Regions from separate parts of the Homo sapiens genome. Here regions 2 and 3 are each linked to region 1. The links are contacts of gene promoters, found by promoter capture Hi-C in blood cells and fetal thymus (Javierre and others, 2016). All regions are on one chromosome and are shown on one strand. Each heading gives the region's core, a stretch centred on a gene start or on the middle of the fragment in contact. The rest is flanking DNA. Distances are from core to core; before and after follow the strand shown. Region 1 holds the start of MMP27 (matrix metallopeptidase 27). Region 2 overlaps YAP1 (Yes1 associated transcriptional regulator). Region 3 overlaps LOC105369460 (a long non-coding RNA gene).

Evidence for each region. Contacts are between HindIII fragments. The CHiCAGO score rates a contact against its expected background, and 5 or more counts as called.
Region 2: a contact is called between a fragment that was not itself captured here and the fragment with the promoter of MMP27 in region 1, in 3 of 17 cell types (naive CD8 T cells, activated CD4 T cells and non-activated CD4 T cells). The highest score is 6.9, in naive CD8 T cells.
Region 3: a contact is called between a fragment that was not itself captured here and the fragment with the promoter of MMP27 in region 1, in 4 of 17 cell types (M0 macrophages, M1 macrophages, M2 macrophages and 1 more). The highest score is 16.5, in M0 macrophages.

What each region holds. Positions count from the first base shown.
Region 1 is chr11:102,704,024-102,707,232 of GRCh38, reverse strand. MMP27 (matrix metallopeptidase 27) reads left to right here and starts at 1,464. Exons shown (of 10, transcript NM_022122.3): 1 at 1,464-1,620; 2 at 2,458-2,696. The coding sequence starts at 1,519. The HindIII fragment of the contact is 3,149 bases long and covers 1-1,664 here.
Region 2 is chr11:102,210,915-102,214,123 of GRCh38, reverse strand. The region is part of intron 6 of YAP1 (Yes1 associated transcriptional regulator); the gene reads right to left. Among named protein-coding and RNA genes, the nearest start is that of YAP1-DT, 100 kb to the right of the region's middle. The HindIII fragment of the contact is 2,317 bases long and covers 447-2,763 here.
Region 3 is chr11:102,279,821-102,283,029 of GRCh38, reverse strand. It overlaps LOC105369460 (a long non-coding RNA gene), which reads right to left. Exons shown (of 5, transcript XR_007062863.1): 5 at 1,791-3,197. Among named protein-coding and RNA genes, the nearest start is that of BIRC3, 36 kb to the left of the region's middle. The HindIII fragment of the contact is 1,863 bases long and covers 523-2,385 here.

The DNA.
Region 1 (3,209 bases), core at 215-2,714:
AAAAATAATTTAAAGAAGTTACCTTTGGGGAGCAGGACTTGAAGGAGCGAAAGGTTAGGGCAGAGAGATGCTTTTTCGTTACAACAAGATAGCACCATTTGACTTCCCTTTTTCTGGTAACTCTATTTTTTTTTAAATTTTGTTCTGAAATATTTTAGAGTTTAAAAAACACAAAAGAACAATACAATGAGCATACTTGTACTTAGCATACTTGTACTTAATACCATTATAACACAAATCCTGATCATGTCTGCCTTCTCCCCTTCATCCCATTGCTCCAGAGGCCAATTAAACAATTTAAACTATATACATATATTAAAACAGTAAATAATAATATTTCTGAAACAAGATTTATAACTGGGATGAGCTTTAAATGCAAAGGAAGTATGTATCTACTTAGATCCTATAAGTTCCTCAGCTATGCCATATAAATTTTGTTTAGGATATGGACAAGGAAGATTTAGAAAGGTGTATCGATTGAGGAGTTAACATTTGGGAAGAAAGGGAAGAAAATTTTAATAATTGGTAGAAGAAAAGGGGAGGACAAGTGAGGGAGGACATTGCTGTAACTAAGACTGTTCCTTCATCTAAAAGTAGCCCAAGTAAAGAAGAATATATTGAAATTAATCCAAAAGGCTCTCACTAACTATATTCTCACTTCTGATGTTAATTTTGGCCTTCATCATCCATGACCTCTATGACTCTTCATCTTCCCAGTCAGCTGTCTTGTCCATGAGACCCTCCATCCCATCTTCCATAGCTGTCTACATATGTATTTTGTTCCAGTCAGGCCAGATTTCCTGCAGCTTATTTCTGCTGTGTTACCTCCTTCCCATGGCCTCTTTGCACTCATACTTCTTCTTCCTTCCTCTGTAAATCCAAATTCTACACATTCTCCAAAACCCAGAGCAAGCCCTAGTGCAAGCCCCAGTGCAGGCTGTATTTAACTTGCATAAAACCTCAAGGCCACACTCATAAGCAATGATCTGCCTTTGGCCCTTCTTAGTCTTTACAATCTGCACTGTGTATTTGCCCACTTGCCTCCTTTTTGTCCTACATTAATTTCTGTATGTGTCTGAATTCTCCAACAAGATTGCATTCACAGGGGCAGGCAAACAGTAGGAATTCAATAAACATTTGAAGTTTATCTTAGTTAATAAGGGTAATCTGACTCCTGATTCATTTGTCTTTTTATGATAACATCCTACCAAGATATTCTGAGATTGCCTTCAAAAGAAAACTTTGCAAGGAAAAAAAAATAACTTGGAGGCTCACTTCCCAGTATATTCAATTCAGTAATAAGCACTAACTGTGTTTACTAAACAATTGCAGGCCAAGATTACAAAATCAGCTCAGTCAAAAAAAAAAAAAAAAAAAAGCAAATCATGACACACTTTATGGCAAGTGTCCCTTTCTGTTATTAATTAAATGATGATACAAGCCAATTCATGCCACGTCTCACTATTATTTTCTAAATTCTGTGCTAACAGAACCGGCTTCAGCTGAAGAAAGAGAGGAATGAAGCGCCTTCTGCTTCTGTTTTTGTTCTTTATAACATTTTCTTCTGCATTTCCCTTAGTCCGGATGACGGAAAATGAAGAAAATATGCAACTGGCTCAGGTACTGTCTTAATAAATGATATCGATGACTATTGATAAAAAGCTTATTTTATTGATTCTCTTGGGACCTAAAAAGAAAACACATTCCTGCAAAAGAGTCCTGAACTTTTTTGTGAGAAGGAACTGCTTTTCATTTGTCTATCTCTGACGATATCAGGAAATTGTGTTGGGGAGGAGGGCTGGCACAGGGAGGGGGAAAGGATCTGCTATAACTTTTAGCAATGGTCACAAATGAAGGGATGTTTAGTGCGAGGAGAAAGGAGAGAGCCCTGCAAGGTATGGAGATCACTATAAAAGCATTTCAAGACAACCAGGAGGACCCAATCTACAATTTGGAGCCCTAATCCCTATATGTATGAAAAAAAATACATTGCTTTACAGATTCCCTCTAAAAATCAGTTCAGTTAACTTTTTATTTTTGGTTAAAGCAAATACATGTGCAAAATGGATAATCACTTATTTATCCTAGAACTTGTTTCAAAGAAACACCAAAATGAAAGTAACAGCAAAAATATGTAAGATAGGTCATCATTCAACAGACAGACGAAGCTTCATTCTCTTCTGTGGAGGTTTAAGAGCTGCGTGCTTTGGCTAATTCTGGTCACTCATAAGTCAACCAAGTCTTGGAAATTGAAAGAGCAGGGTGACTCGTTATTTTCCTCTTTGTGTCCTTCCTTTCTTCTTTCCTCCTTCACTCCTCACTTTCTCTCATTACTTCTTTTTTTTCCCCTTTCCTATTGCCAGAAGGAATTTTAGGCAATTTTGCTTTATCCTGAGATGGAGATTTGCTCTCCTGTAGTCTGTGCCTCTTTTTTTTTTTTCTTATCTTTTTGGTCAGGCATATCTCAACCAGTTCTACTCTCTTGAAATAGAAGGGAATCATCTTGTTCAAAGCAAGAATAGGAGTCTCATAGATGACAAAATTCGGGAAATGCAAGCATTTTTTGGATTGACAGTGACTGGAAAACTGGACTCAAACACCCTTGAGATCATGAAGACACCCAGGTGTGGGGTGCCTGATGTGGGCCAGTATGGCTACACCCTCCCTGGGTGGAGAAAATACAACCTCACCTACAGGTAATGCTTCTGCCAGCTTATTTCCGCCTAATCCAAAGGAACATAAAGATAATTTCCAAGGAACAGAATAATATTCATTCAATTGACTGAGCACTTCCTGTGTGCACAGCACATCTTAGGCTCCATTTACGGTATCTTCCCAACAAACCTGTGCTGTAGGCTCTGCTGCTACCACCATCTTAAATACAGAGAAACTGAAACAAAAGTTTATTTACCGTGGCTGAGGTTACACAGCTCTTACTGGCTCCAGCAGACATGCTCTCATCTCTAGCCTCTGCCACCATCATATAAGCTCCCAACAAATACTGTCATCTGACTGCAGATACTTGACAGCATGAATGAAGGGTGCCCAAGAGAAAATGGGGAGACCCTGGAACACAACCAGTTTATGTCAGAGACATGTGTGTGTGAGAGAGAGAGTTGCCAAATCTCAGATGAGCCCCTCAGAGCAAAGTAGGGTGTTTCCCTCAGACATCTCAAGGAAAAGGGGGCAGGCTGACTCATTGGCAGGAA
Region 2 (3,209 bases), core at 356-2,855, 490 kb after region 1:
GTTTTTATTTCTGGGTAGTTTCAAGAATTCTCTAATTTTCTTTTTTTGAGGCAGAGTCTCACTCTGTCACCCAGGCTGGAGTGTAGTGGCATGATCTCAGCTCACTGAACCGCTGCCTCCCAGACTCAGGCCATCCTCCCACCTCAGCCTCCTGAGTAGCTGGGACTACAGGTGCATGCCACCAAGCCCAGCTAATTTTTCCGTTTTTAGTAGAGATGGACTTTCACCATATTGGCCAGGCAGGTCTCGGACTTCTGACCTCAGGTCATTTGCCTGCCTCGGCCTCTCAAAGTGCTGGGATTACAGGCGTGAGCCACTGTGCCCTGCCTCAAGAATTCTCATAAGGGCACTTGGGAATGAATCTCACCCTAAGCCTTAAAACAGAAATGAAGAATCTTTACTGGTAAGAAAGGGGATAAGCAAGGTTCTCACTATGGGGAAAAGCTTGTGAGCAGAATAACAGCAACAAGGCAGTGGAGTACACTTAGCTAATAATGGAAGAGTTACTGGCTTAACTGGAACCAGTGAGTGAAAAGGCTACTGACCACAGACCATGAGCCAGTTGCAGAGTTTAAACTCGATCTCATAGGTACTAGGGAACCCCAGATATTAAGAACCAAATTCTTTTTCTTTTTTTCAAGACGGAGTTTTGCTCTTTTCGCCAGGCTGGAGTGCAATGCCACGATCTTGGCTCACTGCAACCTCTGCCTCCCAGGTTCAGGCGATTCTCCCTCCTCAGCCTCCTGAGCAGCTGGGATTAAAGGCGCCCGCCCCACCACATCCAGCTAATTTCCGTATTTTTAGTAGAGACGGGTTTCACCATGTTGACCAGGCTGGTCTCAAACTCCTGACTTCAGGTGATCCACCCGCCTTGGCCTCCCAAAGTGCTGGGATTACAAGCGTGAGCCACCGCCCCCAGTCCAAGAACCATATTCTTAAGCACAAGAGAAGGTAGAAGTGTTCGCACCTCAGGGGGGACTATCTTTCCTCAAAGTTCTTCTCTCAAAAGACCTTAAAACAGAAGCTAGAGTGCATTCCTAAACCCACTTGCTCAAAAGGTCTCTCCAATTTACAAGTGAGCACTGATGTGTAACAGAGATATGACTAGAAAATAGCATTAACTGCTCAATCTCACAAAGCAAAGATGTTTACAGTTTCAGAAAGTTTCTTCTGAGAATGGAAATTGCTTTTGAAACATAAAAATCATAAGTAACCAAAATGAAATTAAAATGTTAAGCTCTTTGGCAGGGTGTGGTGGCTCATGCCTGTAATCCCAGAACTTTGGGAGGACGAGGTGGGCAGATCACCTGAGGTTGGGAGTTCAAGACCAGGCTGACCAACATGGAGAAACCCTGTCTCTACCAAAAACACAAAATTAGCCGGGCATGGTGGCGAATGCCTGTAATCCCAGCTACTTGGGAGGCTGAGGCAGAATCATTTGAACCCGGGAGGCAGAGGTTGCGGTGAGCAGAGATCATGCCATTGCACTCCAACCTGGGCGACAAGGGCAAAACTCCGTCTCAAAATAAAAATAAAAATAAAAATAAAAATAAAAATAAAAAGTTAAGCTCTGTAAGGATGAATTTTTCCAAAATCCTGCCAACATAGTATAATAAATTAAGGTGATAATTTCCATATTTAACTAAGAAGATATATAAATGCCTTTAAAGTTTTTTCAAAATTTTACATTTCAATATCACTTGGGCCATGGATCTTGGAATTTTTCATTAACCTCACCCATACTGACGTTAGTGTACACGAGCACAGCACCCTACAACAGCCACATGATATGTTAAATCCTATAGGAAGTACTTAAAGACAGCTTCTGTAGTAATTCATAAGCATTTTGAAGTTTAGTGGCTTTCCACATCCCACAGCATATGAGGTATACGATTAGAAAATGACACTGATCTCACTATTGCTTGCTAACTCAGCTGCATTAATATCTATTACAAAGTATAAGTTAAAAACCCAGTAACTTTACAACAGCGTCTAGTGTTCAGATACTGAGTGATGTCTTTATACCCTCTGTTCTTTGGGGCTGAAAAGTCCTTTCTAGCTTTCTTGATTATTCTGAGAAACACTATTTAAAGCCATCTTCACTTAAGATATGACTCTTCTGGCTGGGCGCGGTGGCTCACGCCTGTAATACCAGTGCTTTGGGAGGCCGAGGCAGGCGAATCATGAGGTCAGGAGGTGGAGACCATCCTGGATAACATGGTGAAACCCCGTCTCTACTAAAAACACAAAAAATTAGCTGGGCGTAGTGGCAGGCACCTGTAATCACAGCCACTCAGGAGGCTGAGGCAGGAGAATTGCTTGAACCTGGGAGGTGGAGGTTGCAGTGAGCTGAGATTGCGCCACTGCACTCCAGCCTGGGTGACAGAGCAAGACTCCATCTCAAAAAAAAAAAGAAGAAAAGACATGACTCTTCTTTGTGATCTATTTCCTGACATCTACCTTAAGGTTATTTAGAAAATAATAGGATGAGAAAAATATACACATGCTTTCTTGATACAAATACCACCAGATTTCTTGATCTATTTCAAATATAACCCTATACTTGAATTTCATACATTTACTGATAACTTTCCACAATTATGCCAGGTAAATATTAAACACTGACAACTAAAGCATATATAACAAACCAATATTTTAATCTCCAGCATATGCAAAGAAGATTTTTAAAAACCTCTTTCAAGTTTTTTGCTCTGGTCTGGGCAAATCTGAGTAATTACCTCTAATCTTCGTATCTTAGAAGCTTTACTACTAATAAGCCTCACCTTTTCTAAAACTTTACTATTTTAAAAAATCTAAGAATTCCTGATAATTTTAATAACAGTAAAGATTTACTTTTCTATTCAAGTATGAAACAAAGATCAAGAAGAATTTGACTTATTTATCAGATTCAGGGTATAAGACCTTGGGAAAAAAGGAAACAATTTCAACATTTTTTTGGCATGGAGGACTTTTTACCTGAATCCAAATCTCCTTTGAGTTAATTTCTGCTCCTATATTAGTTTCTATTTCATTTATCATGAATAAAATTCTTCTTTCAGAAACACTTCAGGCCAGACGTGGTGGCTCACGCCTGTAATCCCAGCAATTTGGGAGGCTGAGGTGGGCGGATCACGAGGTCAGGAGATCGAGACCATCCTGGCTAACACTGTGAAACCCCGTCTCTACTAAAAAATTCAAAAAGAATTAGC
Region 3 (3,209 bases), core at 205-2,704, 420 kb after region 1:
CCCCACCTGAGCCTTCCGAGTACCTAGGACTACAGGCTTGCGTCATCACTACTGGCTACTTTTTTTCTTTTTTTTTTTTTTGAGACGGAGTTTCACTCTTGAGCAATGGCGCGATCTCGGCTCACTGCAACCTCCGCCTCCCAGGTTCAAACGGTTATTCTGCCTCAGCCTCCCAAGTAGCTGGGATTACAGGTGCCCGTCACCAAGCCCAGCTAATTTTTCATATTTTCAGTAGAGACAGGTTTTCACCATGTTGGCCAGGCTGGTCTCGAACTCCTGACCTCAGGTGATCCACCTGCCTCAGCCTCCCAAAGTGCTGGGATTACAGGTGTGAGCCAATGTGCCCGGCCTAATTTTCTTTTTAATTTTGTAGAGATGGGGTCTTGCTATGTTGTCCAGGCTGGTCCTGAACTCCCAGGCTCAAGCAATCCTCTAGCCTCAGCCTCCCACTGCTGGGATTACAGGCGTGAGCCACCATGCCTGGCCATTGGAAACCATATACTAAGGGGTGTGGAACAAGCTTGGGTCCCTGATGACTGTGGAGTTGCTCTATCAATGCTGGACCTCTTTATCACAAAAGAATAATAAGAATAAACATTTTCCTTGTTTATATCACCGATATCTGGGTGAAATCTACTCCAAATTGCAACAGTTACTAAAGGCTGGGATTAGAATCTGAACCCAAACACATATGATGTTAAAGTCTCACATTCATTCCATTACCTTGCCAGCTTCCCTGACCATGGAAGCAGGTCTGCAACAAGCCCTGGCTCAGCCACTAACACACACAACAAACAAGTACCGACTACAATATATAGGAGTCATATGCTCTTCTAGGTTCCAGCATACAACAGTAAACAAAGACAAAAATCCCTGGGATTTAATTAATATTCTAATAAGGAATGATATACAATTTTTTAAAAATATGTAAAATGTAGGCTGTGTTAATGATAAATACTATAAAGCTAAATAATGCAGAAAATGTAGATAGGGAATGCTAGGAAGAAGGGTTTCAGGATTTGTTGATTTGTTTTTATTGTTTTTGTTTTGTTTTGTTTTTGAGATGGAGTCTTGCTCTGTTGTCCAGTCTGGAGTGCAGTGGTGCGATCTCGGCTAACCACAACTTCCACCTCCCAGGTTCAAGCAATTCTCCTGCCTCAGCCTCCTGAGTAGCTGGGACTACAGGCGTGAGCCATCATGCCCAGCTAATTTTTGTGTTTGTATCAGAGATGTAGTTTCACTATGTTGGCCAGGCTAGTCTCGAACTCCTGACCTCATGATCCACCCTCCTTGGCCTCCCAAAGTGCTGGGATTATAGGCGTGAGCCACTGCACACGGCCTTGCTAATTTTCTGTATTTTTAGTGGAGACGGGATTTTGCCATGTTGGCCAGGCTGGTCTTGAACTTCTGACCTCAGGTGATCCACACACCTCGGCCTCCCAAAGTACTGGGATTACAGGTGTGAGCCACCACACCCAGCCCCTGAAATTTGAATTGAAGACAATTTTTAACATGTCATGAAATGTTATCCTTTTGATTTTTTTTTTTTGCAGCCATTTAAAAATGTATCTTAACATTCTAGTCAAAAACAAAAACAAAAACAAAAACAAAACAGGCAGTAGACTGGATTTGACCTGCAGGCTGTACTCTGCTAACCCCTGCTTTAGACAGATGTACATTTATTCAATTTTTTTCTTAACTTGGTACATTTTTTTAAATGCATGCTAATGATGAACTTCTTAAAGTTACAGTGCTGGTATCTTGACCCACCAAAAAAAAGTGGTTGCAAATCATAGATCCAAAATGTATTTGAGGCAGAAGATTGTTCAGAACAAAAATCACTGAAAAGATACATTTTTAGACATAGCTCCTTTACAATTACTTCTTGATAGACAATGGAATTTAACTCTGCACTTACATTCTAATTCTACTTTGACAACGGAACCATTGGAAAAATGTTGGCGTATATTTCTCCAGTTTTGGTTTTATATTTTCTTTATAACTTAAAAAATCTAATTATCATTCTTTTTTGAGAAGGCACTCAATAAATGCTTTTTGAATGAATGATCCAGTCTGTTAAAACTGAAACATTTGCATTCACCCTGGCTTAGGCAAAATTGTAATGAAAGTTATCTTGAACATGCACAGTCTGCGTTTTTCTCTCTATACGGTATGTCTTCTATTAATGTTGTTTTTAAACAACCTTTTCCCTTTCCTTCTCTTGCTGAGATCTCAATACCCTTGCGATCCCTTCCACTTTTTATTAAAACCTGTGCTTAGGGTGAATAAGAGCGTTACTCTTAGAATATTGTAAATAACTTCTAGCAGCAAACTGTTTTACTACACTGTTGGGCTCATTTGCATTTTAATAGAATGAATGAAGCTTTGCATCTGGCATGTTAATACTCAGGGAGCCAACAGGTGGGGAAAACATTTCTTCCAGGAACCTCAGGTAAACTTCTGCTTCAGAAATCATGTCCCATAAGAAGTCACCTCCTTCACCTATGAGGAAAGACAACCACGCTGTCACTGGGCGGAATGGTCACAGCTGGCCTGTGGTGGAATCATGCATTGTAACAGGCAAAGGCTCCAATCAAGCCTGTCCTCTACCCTAGATCTGGGGCTGATAGCATTCTGCAAGAACAGCCACAAAATAAGAACAGGAATCATCTGCACTTTGGAAACACCAACACACTGAGACCTGTTTTGGAAAAAAACAGTGTCTGAAATGGAAAGCTTAGGGGAGACACTTCAAACTCAAAGAACTCCCTGCTGAGATTTTAAAGCCCCACCACATAAAGAAAAAACCTTGACGTGTTTGACTAGCAATTGACAATTTATGTAAAATATCAACTTTCATATCACCAATATTTATATCGCCTAACTTTTATAAGGAACATAAAATATACACATGACTATTCGACCTGCCAAGAAATGATAGCTTGGTATACTGTCATTGGCCTTGGATCATCGCTTGAATTGAGCAACATAATTCAGAGCACAGAGTCTCCGACTCACGGGGAATATAAAATTCTTATCCAAGGACAATGTAACCCGCTTGCAAATATAATAGCGCACGTGCAATTCATCGCGTCTCTCTTTCCCCTTTTGTTCATTTGCTCTCCACTAGAGGATGTGATCTCTGAAACTTTGCTCTTTATGCCGATGGTTTGCAGGGGACTGAGTGAGAATGGGAGCTGAAAGAGAAA